4 separate regions of the Homo sapiens genome follow, and all the other regions are linked to region 1. The links are contacts of gene promoters, found by promoter capture Hi-C in human tissues and cell types (Jung and others, 2019). All regions are on one chromosome and are shown on one strand. Each heading gives the region's core, a stretch centred on a gene start or on the middle of the fragment in contact. The rest is flanking DNA. Distances are from core to core; before and after follow the strand shown.

Region 1 (2,700 bases), core at 167-2,666:
ACAAACTGGAATCAATGTTCCATTATTAAATCAATATTACTTTTTAATTTTAATGTGACTTGTAGAATGCAATTTGATACTTGATTACACCCTATGATTCATAGCTATTATTGGCTATTTTGATTGTTTCTTACTCCTAATATGTCCCCTATCAAACTGCAAATGCCTTGAGGTCAAAGGTCCTTTTTTGTCTAATTAGCATAGGACTGAACACTTGGAAGATGCTAACAACATTCCTCTGTTAAATTTAATAAGGATTTTAACTTTCCAAGTTCAATGGGTTTTGAATGACTCCTGAATATAATATATTATGCTAGGTGTAGTGTAATAGAGAAAACATTTGTATTACTTGCATTTTACAAGCTGGAGGAGAAGCAAGAACACAATACCTAGGGAAGATTTAGATTTAGTAAGAAATCAGAACGTCCCAATACCCCCTTGTATATGTTTTACCAACCTAGATTTAAAAAAAAAAAAAAAAAAGCCAGAATCCCAGGCAACATAGGGAGCTAATTTGAGTTCTTTTTATAATAAATCCTATAAATCCTTGTAGTTTACTTCCTTAGGCCAGACACTCCAGATGTTTTTGTGGATAGCAGCTAGGTCTCCTGGGACCTTGGATTGGGCCTTTCTCTAGTCAGGCAAATAATCTGAAAAGAAAACGAAATCACATGTAGTCCAGCACATTTTTTCCTTTCTTGGTTTCTCCACACCAGCTAAGAGTTATTTAAAGGCTCTGAACCTCTCCAGCCTTTGATTCTTTTTAAGGATGATTTTATTTTTAGAGAACTTTCCACATTTCCTAGTTATACAGCCAGACTGGGTGATCTGGCCAGAAAATCATTTTCCCTTAAAAAAAAAAAAAAAAAAAAAAAAAAAAAAAGCTAAAATTTGAACGCAGGCGTTGAATTCGAAACAGATTTATCATAACGTAATTCCCTGGACACTCCCAACTTGAGACTGAAAGCTGGGCGAAAGCGGTTTGTGAAGCTAACCTAAAAGACAAAATGGTCTAGAGCCACCTTTTCCCCGCAAATAACAGAGGATTAAGGATCTGAAATCTTCAAGCCTCCAGGACCACGGTGCAAGCCCTCAGCAAAAATTTCTGCTGGAGGCCGGAGCGCCTTTTGATTTCGGGAGACTGGCCCAGGAACTCTAGTCACTTGGAAGGCGGAAGAGAAGGTGGTACCTGAGCCAGGTAGGAGCCACTCAGAGGCAGCCCGGGGCCGCCACTCACCTAGGAGAGGAGGTGGAGTCCGATGACCTGGACTGAGAGGAAACGCGAGACTGAGTCTACCAGGTGAGGTAAAAAACACCCACCTGCTCACCTCGGAAGGGGCGGGCGAGGTGCGGCTCCCGGTGACCCGCGGGGGTGCAGCGCACCTGGGCGGAGGCGGAACTGGGAGGGTGTGGGCACTGCTCGTAGGGCCTGGAACTAAACTCACCTGTGACGGAGGCAGAGGAGGGGCCCGGGCAAAAACCCACCTGAGCTGGCGGGAAACCCGACCCGCGAGCAGTCCCCGGGCTTGCGCGGCGCGGAGAGGGAGGCGCCCCGCGGCGGGGCCCCCACTCGGTCAGCCCGCGCGTCGGTCCCCGCGCGGCCGCCATGACCTGGAGCGCCACGGCCCGGGGCGCCCACCAGCCCGACAACACCGCCTTCACTCAGCAGCGCCTCCCCGCCTGGCAGCCGCTGCTGTCGGCCAGCATCGCGCTGCCGCTCTTCTTCTGCGCGGGCCTGGCCTTCATCGGCCTGGGCCTGGGCCTCTACTACTCCTCCAACGGCATCAAGGAGCTGGAGTACGACTATACAGGCGACCCGGGCACCGGTAACTGCTCGGTGTGCGCCGCGGCTGGCCAGGGCCGGGCGCTGCCGCCCCCCTGCTCGTGCGCCTGGTACTTCTCGCTGCCCGAGCTCTTCCAGGGCCCAGTGTACCTCTACTACGAGCTGACCAACTTCTACCAGAACAACCGGCGCTACGGCGTGTCCCGCGACGACGCGCAGCTGAGCGGACTCCCCAGCGCGCTGCGCCACCCTGTCAACGAGTGCGCCCCCTACCAGCGCAGCGCGGCCGGCCTGCCCATCGCGCCCTGCGGCGCCATCGCCAACAGCCTCTTCAACGACTCCTTCTCGCTTTGGCACCAGCGCCAGCCCGGCGGGCCCTACGTCGAGGTGCCGCTCGACCGCTCCGGCATCGCCTGGTGGACCGACTACCACGTCAAGTTCCGCAACCCGCCGCTGGTCAACGGCAGCCTGGCGTTGGCCTTCCAGGGCACGGCGCCCCCGCCCAACTGGCGCCGGCCAGTCTACGAGCTCAGCCCCGACCCCAACAACACCGGCTTCATCAATCAGGACTTCGTGGTGTGGATGCGCACGGCGGCGCTGCCCACGTTCCGCAAACTGTACGCGCGCATCCGCCAGGGCAACTACTCGGCCGGGCTGCCGCGGGGCGCCTACCGCGTCAACATCACCTACAACTACCCGGTGCGCGCGTTCGGCGGCCACAAGCTCCTCATCTTCAGCAGCATCTCGTGGATGGGTGGCAAGAACCCCTTCCTGGGCATCGCCTACCTGGTCGTCGGCTCCCTCTGCATCCTCACCGGCTTTGTCATGCTGGTCGTCTACATTCGCTACCAGGACCAGGACGACGACGACGAGGAGTGATTCCGGCTTTCCAGGGATCCCTCCTGCTTCTTGCCAAA
Region 2 (2,700 bases), core at 107-2,606, 360 kb before region 1:
ATAAAACTACATTCTAGTCACAACAATTTAATAATATAAATATATAGAGAAATTTAAATATACAAACATTTCAAGTAAATGCTAATTGTGACCTAATGTCTTTACTAGAGAAGAATAATATGAAAATTCATCTAGTGTTCTGTTTATAACTCTAATGCAAAAGATAGTTCTCTATTAGTTGAGTCAAATGTTTGTATCTCGATTACAGGCATCAGAACTTTGAGGTCTTTACTGACCTACACTCCTATCAAGACAAAAAAAAAGGAAGAAGTGTGGCATTTATTTGTCCATTAGTTCATTCATTCATTCTGCAAATATTCAGCATTTACCTTGTACGTGGCATTGAATTTGGCCCGAAGAACAGATAACCTAATGGTGTTTGGAGAATTGAAATAGTTATACTGCAAGTAATCTAATTGATTAAATCTTCTTATTTAAAGTTGAAGACTGAGGCAAATTAAAGCAGCCAAACAATTTTGGCTAGTTTTACCCATGCACTCTCGTTATGTCCATACCCACCTTCCACTAAACTTCTCTTGTCATTCTTCCCTATTTTCTAACCATTATTATAACTCCAACAGATATATTGTCATTTGCATTTATATACAATTAAGTTGGTCAATGATCCTAATCCATTCACTTCAACTACATAAGTACAATGTTAGTGAAATAAATGTGTCATTTAAAAATGAGGTCTGATCATACCATAAGACAGGGCAAAAAGGAAAATAAAGAAAATGAGGTCTAAGGTTAAAATATTTCATTAAAAAACATCAAAACTGAACACAGAAATGATCACAATAGAAGCAGACAGCCATTCCTTAGAACCTCTTTCTACTGTCTATTTCCTGAAATGGTTTTTCTCTAGTTTATTTCATTTTGTATCACAGATGACTATTTGGTTTAGTGTGTCTAATTCCTCTGCAATTAGATTTGCAGAACATATTACTTCATTTTAATAAAAAGTTTTTGAATCACAGCCAAATTGCTGTAGGACAAGCAGATTTTGTTTTCTTACAATTTCATTAGTAAAAAAAAAATGAGGATACCAATATTGAAATGTCACAAATATGGAATTTTAAGTCAAACATCTGTGTTCCCTTAAAGGAGAATATCTTTTCTGAAGCTTGGGAGCCTCCATTAGTGAACAAATTAGTTAAACAGACATTTGCAATGAAAAAAAAAAATCCCATCAGTTTTGTTGAATTATTTTTGTTTTATTATGGGTTTATTTCATTATTAAAAGTAGAAAAAATGCATAAAATAATAGAAGAATAAGAAATAAAACAATTACTTGAGGCTGTACTAGGCAAATGATTCTGATGTGCTTCACTGAACACAGGATGTAACCTGAGCCCCTGTCCCTGGCTTGACAGAGCATCTGTTTCTCACAGATGCCTGAAAAACACCCTGCTCCTCTAGATGCTGGGGCGCTTTTCTGAGCATTGCATTACCTTTATCAAAGAGTGCAAACACGTATTCTATTTGTAAGGGATGGATGAATGTAGATGGTTGTGTTGTGCATACCATCTATATCCTTCTATGTATATATGCTCTTGTACCCAAAAGAAAAGTCACACTTAATTCATGGTCCATGGCTGTACAAACAACAAGAAATACCACATCTAGTACTGCAAAAAAGCAAGTGGAAGAACCAGTATCTCTTATTTAGATATACTGTAGTAGTAAAAGAGAACATACCCAGTACAAAGGAAGGGGCATCTGCTTTTCTTAGTTCTGGGGATTGCTATGTTTAATAACTTCAGAGGAACACTGATGAGGTGGAAGGCAAGTGCATGTCTCTTTTTTCCCCCTACTGCATACAGAGCCCTGGTACAGAGCACTCAGTGGATGCTCATAAATATTTGTTGAGTGAATGAAAGGAGAACAACTAGAATTGTGATGCATTTCTAAAACAGGACTAAAACAGGCCATGTGGTTAAAGTAAATGAAGATACTTAGCCAGAGAGGAGGAGACTTAGGGAGCACAACAGTTCTCTTTGTATTTGAAATAAATTTTCACATAGAGGAAGGGCTAGACTCACTCTGAGTGACCTAGGGAACAAAATAAGCAACTGTATAAAGAGGAACATGAAATTAGAGCTGCCCCAAATGGAAGAGTAACCACTGGAATAACTCTTGTTAACCATTCTAATTCTTACCTAGTTTCTACATCTTCCTGTCACCAAAGTTGCTCATTCATTCACCCATTCATTCAAAAACACATATTTACATGGGTGAACACATCTCCAAACTCATCAAACTGTATACATTAAATATGTACAGCTTTTTGTATGACAATCATATCTCAATAAAGTAGTTTTAACAACAGCCACCACCACCAAAAGTCCCCCCAAAAAATACATATTGAGAACCTTCATGCTTACAGGTACTCTATCAGGTTCTGGGGAAATAACTGTGAACCCAAGAAACGTGGCCTCTTTTCTCATTCAGTTTATAAGCTGGTGAAGGAAACAGACAAGACAGTCAGACAAATCCTTTACAAATGATCATGCAACTTTGGTTTCAGTAAAGTCAGTTGCTTAAATCAAAGTTGCATGATCATTTGTAAAGGATACCAAAAAGGGAAATCCTGAATCATGTGTAAGGGCTAGACAGGATGATCTCACTAGTCTTTCCAACTGTTGAGATTCCTAGGATACTATGCTTTCTCCCTGCATTCTCATCTCAGTAAGTTGT
Region 3 (2,700 bases), core at 146-2,645, 340 kb after region 1:
GGGGTCTTTGTGAGGCATTCAGGTTTACATGAATTCACGAGGGTGGAGCCTTCATGACTATATTAATGCCCTTACAAGAACAGATACCAGAGAACAAACTTGCTGTCTCTCTGCCACATGAGGACACAGATAGAAGGCCAGGAAGAGAGCCCTCGCCAGCAATCAAATCAGCCAGGACTTCCCAGCCTCCAGAATTATGAGAAATAGACTTCTATTGTTTAAGCCACTGAGTGTGTGGTATTTGGTTATAGCAGTTGAAGTAGACAAATAGACTATTACCATATAGCTTTAGAATCAAACATTTGATGTTAAATCCTACCCCCATAGTACTGGTCTCAGGAAAGGTATGTGGCCTGTTCAGGGTTGTTATAAATTATCAGGAACGATATACAAGAAGTGCCTAAAAAAGAGCCTACCATACACACAGGTACTCAATTAGTGATAGTGAATGAGAACAAAAGGTCAAGGAATGACTTCACACAATAACTTTAGCAGAGGAAGAAGAACTGGCCAAAAGGATTCAGAAGAAATCAGAGGAAGAAAAAAAAAACAAAAACAAAAACAAAAAGGAAGTAGTGTCATAAAGCAAATGAAAGATACAGTTTGAAGAATAAGAGAATGGTTCGATAGAAGGGTAAAATAAGAAAAGGACCGCAAGTTACCCACCAAATTTTGTAATTAGCAAGTCGATTGTGAATCAGCAAAATCAGATTCTAAGTAAAAGCCAAATTCCACTAGGTTTGGTGGATGAATCAGAAATAAGGAAGTAGAGAGAGCAAGTATAAGACTTTTTTCAAAGGTTTTTCATTGAATATGGAAGAAAGAGCAGTAGTCAGAGGAAGATTCAGGGTTGATGAAGCGACTATGTGGTTTTAAGATGGAAATTTGAGTATGTTCATGTTGTAAAGGAAATATTTCAACACAGAGAAGATGATCTCAATCTGAAAGAGGGAGGGAGACCAATTTGATGGTCTAATATCCCTGAGTTGAATCAAAAGTAGGCCATGGAACACAGGTGGTGGGACTGGCCTCAAAAGCAGGACAGGCCTTTCTGCCAATAAGAATGGACAGAAGGAGTTAGCAATGTGTACAAGTATGGACGAGTTTATAGTTAGAGTGTGGCTTTGGAGAGAATGTATTCATACATACGTTTTCTCTGTGTAGCATGTTGAAAAGTTAGTTGCTGAGTATAAAGAGGGGAAAGTGGAGTGGGAGATTTAGGAAACTGATGATGTGGGAAAGCCACTGTGGGATGTGAGAGAAGAAGCCACCGTATCTGTGTGCAAAATGATACCTGAATGGCACCAATCTGTTGTTTATGGGATCTTCTCCAGCTTCTCTCGGCAGAACTAATTTAACAATAATTCATACATGTTTTAAAATTTCTAATTATTATTTGTATTCAAATGTTATATATTGTCACAATATAACGAAAACACTAAAATACTAATGTATTTAATATAATTAAAACAGTAAAAATACTAATGTGTTCATAAGGAAGAAAAGATGTGATTATAAAGGAATTTTAGAAAGTGCCCCCAGTGGCCTAAGCCCTTCTCTCATGTAACAGAGAAAAATGACCAAAGATTTATTCAACTTTGAGACTGGGCCCATATTGTAAAGTGATTCCTATAAGGAATCTATTTGGTATTCAAATTTATTCCAAAGAAAAACAAAGAAAATAGATAGTTAGAATTCCTTTATATAAAGATGCTCTATTTTTTTTTTCTGGCAAAGGGCTCTGGATAGAGATAAAATTACCTGACTCCCCTCTTACATAATAAAAAGATTATCATGACACATTATAGACTCAAAAGATGGATTTAGAAAAAAAACTGAAAGTGCTGCCTGTGTCTCAAAAAAACATTTTGGGACACAATAGGAAGCTATAGGTTTGGAAATATTCTTAACCCCTGAAGTATACCTTGAACAAGAAAGTATACTACTAAGCTTTGAGTGAAAAGCACTTGAGCCTACATGATGATGGTAAGTGGTTCTTAGTAGCTTTGAAACTCTGATTCAGGTCTTCACATTAGCTGCTTAATTGCACTGACTGAATTTTTCATTAGCTGATGAAATATTTTATTAGCTTTGGGAAACTGCTATAATCATATTTACAGTAAGAGTTTTCTAAATATTTATTTCCTTGGAGCAAAGAGTTAACACTTTTTAAGAGCTATGTTTGCATGAAAACTCTTTGAGTCCTCTCATTATTTGTACATCTATGAATAATTCAGACAATAAAATGGAATAAAAATTAAAACCAGAGATAATTTCTCCTAGAAAATTATGAGTTCTAGAAAGTGAAATTAAAGTGCCTCGCTTACCAAAATCTTGACAATTTGAAGTTTTATAAGTTTATAAAATTTTATAATTTAGGCACTTCTTGTATATTGTTCCTGATAATTTATAACAACCCTGAACAGGCCACATACCTTTCCTGAGACCAGTACTATGGGGGTAGGATTTAACATTAAATGTTTGATTCTAAAGCTATATGGTAATAGTCTATTTGTCTACTTCAACTGCTATAACAAAATACCACACACTCAGTGGCTTAAACGATAGAAGTCTATTTCTCATAATTCTGGAGTCTAGGAAGTCCTGGCTGATTTGGTTGCTGGCGAGGGCTCTCTTCCTGGCCTTCTATCTGTGTCCTCACGTGGCAGAGAGACAGCAAGTTTGTTCTCTGGTAGCTGT
Region 4 (2,700 bases), core at 156-2,655, 380 kb after region 1:
CCAACAAAATCTCAAACATGGGGTTGGAATTAACTTCTTTCAAATTCCTGATAATGCTGATATTCTGACCTCCTCCCATGGATCACAAATATTCCTAATGCACAAATATTCCTAATGGCTTCTAGAGTAATGAATTGTTTCCAGAAGGTTTTCAATTTGTTTCATCCAGATCCATCAGAGGAATCACTATCTATGGCAGCTATAGCACTATGAAACATATTATTTAAATAACAAGACTGAAAAGTCAAAATTACTCCTTGATCCATGGGCTTTAGAATGGATGTTGTGCTAGCAGTCATGAAAACAATATCCATTTCCTTGCACATATCCATCAGAAGTCTTAGGTGACCAGATGTAATGTCAATGAGTAGCAGTATTTTGAAAGAAATCTCTTTTTTCCGAAGCAGTAAGTCTCAAGAGTGGGCTTCAAATATTCAGCAAACCATGCTGTAAACAGACACACTGTCATCCTGGCTTTTTCATTCCATTTATAAAGCACAGGCAGAGTAGATTTAGCATACTTTTTAGGGGCCCTACAATTTTCAAAATGGCAAATAAATATCGGCTTCAATTTAAAGTCACCAGCTGCATTTGCTCCTAAAAAGAGAGTCAGACTTGCTTTTGAAGCTCTGGAAACAGGCATTGACTTTTTTTTTTTTTTTTTTTTTTTTTTTTTTGAGACAGGCTCTCACTGTATCACATCACTACACTCCAGCTCAGGGTCACCCAGGCTGGAGTACAGTGACATGATCATGGCTCACTGCAGCCTCAACCTCCCCAGGCTCAGGTGATTCTCCCACCTCAGCCTCCTGAGTAGCTACCTCCCATCACCATGCCTAGCTAATTTTTGTATTTTTTGCCATGTTGCCCAGGCTGCTCTCGAACTCTTGGGCTCAAGCTATCTGCCTGCCTCAGCCTCCCAAAATCCTGGAATGAGAGGTGTGAGCTACCATAAGTGGCTGACTTCTTTCTGGCTATGAAAATCCTAGATGGCATCTCCTTCCAATAGACGGATGTTTCATCTACATTGAAAAATCTGTGTTCAGAGTAGCCACCTTCATCAATATCTTGGTAGATCTTGCTGAAGCTTCCACATCAGCCCTTGCTGCTTCACCTTGCACTTTACGTTACGGAAATGGCATCCTTCCTTACATTTCATGAACCAACCTTTGTTAGCTTTAGAATTTTCTTCTGTAGCTTCCTCACCTTTCTCAGCCTTCATAGGATTAAAGAAAGTTAGGCTTTGGTTTAAGGGATTGTTCTTGCTTCTTCGATCTATCCAGACCACTAAAACTTTCTCCATAGCAGCAATCAGGCTGTTTTGCTTTCTTAACATTCATGTGTTCATTGGAGCAACACTTTTAATTTCCTTTAAGAACTTTTCCTCTGCATTCACAACTTGGCTGTTTGGCACAAGAGGTCTAGCTTTTGCCTATTTTGGTTTTTGACATATCTTGCTCACTAAGCTTAATCACTTCTATCTTTTCATTGAAAGTGAGAGACATGTGACCCTTCCTCTCACTTGAACACACAGAACCCTCTGCAGGGTTATTAATTGGCCTAATTTCAATATTGCTGCATCTCAGGGAATAGGGAAGTCCAAGGTAAGAGAGAGAGAGAGAGAGAGAGAGAGAGAGAGAGATGGGGAAACAGCCAGTCAGAAGAACAGTCAGAACACACACATTTATTAACTTCACCTTCTTATACGGGTACAGTTTGTGGCAACCAAAACAATAATAATAGTAACAGCAAAAGATCACTAATCACAAATCACCACACAGATAAAATCATGCAAAAGTCTGAAATAGTGTAAGAATTAACCAAATGTGAAAAACAGACATGAGGTGAGTACATGCTGTTGGAAAAACAGCATTGATATACTTGCAATATTTGCAAAAAGTAATAAAACGAAATGCAATAAAATGAGGTACACCTGTATTTTTGTGAACTGGACCCTATTCTATTTCTTCAAGAGTCATAGATTTTTTAATTGCTTTGCCAATAAGAGTAATAGATTTGTGATAATCAATTACTTTTGCTCAGCAAGTTGGTTTTTATGAATGCAGTCTATGGCCACACAAGAAAACAAAATTAATAGTGCTAATAGAGATCAAACAAGAAATTTTCTTCTAATTACCATCAGGTTCTAATTAACTGACTTAATTCAATACCACCATAACTACTACAATTATTTTCACTACTGATGATATAATAATAGTTAGATATTCTCTGCTAATAGAGATCAAGCAAGAAATTTTCTTCTAATTACCATCAGGTTCTAATTAACTGACTTAATTCAATATCATCATAACTACTACAATTATTTTCACTACTGATGATATAATAATAGATATTATCATGTCTTGTGACTCAGGACATTAAACCTTCACAGTTAAAAATCATTTTTAAAGTTTGCTGATTGATAGTACAGAACTTATGCCAGTTATGTCAACATAAGACAGAAATAAGTACGTGCATCTATATCTTTGTATTGCTTTGTGATAGAGCATTGTAGCTACCACAAAGCAGTATAAAGACAAGCTCTACATGAAATTAAGATAAAAATTTCATTCTACAAGATCAGTGGAACATAATAGAGAACCCGGAAATAAAGCCACATGTTTACGGCCAATTAATAATCAACAATGATACCAAGTACGTACACTGGGGAAAGAATTCCTTCTTTAATAAGTGGTGCTG

Evidence for each region. Contacts are between HindIII fragments. The study calls those that stand out against the background at their distance.
Region 2: a contact is called between a fragment that was not itself captured here and the fragment with the promoter of TMEM30B in region 1, in 1 of the 25 tissues and cell types used here (thymus).
Region 3: a contact is called between a fragment that was not itself captured here and the fragment with the promoter of TMEM30B in region 1, in 2 of the 25 tissues and cell types used here (H1 embryonic stem cells and lymphoblastoid cells).
Region 4: a fragment that was not itself captured here is called in contact with the fragment with the promoter of TMEM30B in region 1 in 2 of the 25 tissues and cell types used here (liver and mesenchymal stem cells).

What each region holds. Positions count from the first base shown.
Region 1 is chr14:61,280,054-61,282,753 of GRCh38, reverse strand. TMEM30B (transmembrane protein 30B) reads left to right here and starts at 1,416. Exons shown (of 1, transcript NM_001017970.3): 1 at 1,416-2,700. The coding sequence starts at 1,607. The coding sequence ends at 2,662. It also overlaps a transcript of PRKCH not described here. RefSeq lists an enhancer at 1,991-2,700. The HindIII fragment of the contact is 14,970 bases long and covers 1-2,700 here.
Region 2 is chr14:61,643,686-61,646,385 of GRCh38, reverse strand. The region is part of intron 1 of LINC03033 (long intergenic non-protein coding RNA 3033); the gene reads right to left. Among named protein-coding and RNA genes, the nearest start is that of HIF1A, 50 kb to the left of the region's middle. The HindIII fragment of the contact is 7,770 bases long and covers 1-2,700 here.
Region 3 is chr14:60,944,383-60,947,082 of GRCh38, reverse strand. The region is part of intron 7 of MNAT1 (MNAT1 component of CDK activating kinase); the gene reads right to left. Among named protein-coding and RNA genes, the nearest start is that of TRMT5, 35 kb to the left of the region's middle. RefSeq lists a silencer at 2,698-2,700. The HindIII fragment of the contact is 3,483 bases long and covers 1-2,700 here.
Region 4 is chr14:60,898,991-60,901,690 of GRCh38, reverse strand. The region is part of intron 7 of MNAT1 (MNAT1 component of CDK activating kinase); the gene reads right to left. Among named protein-coding and RNA genes, the nearest start is that of TRMT5, 81 kb to the left of the region's middle. The HindIII fragment of the contact is 5,229 bases long and covers 1-2,700 here.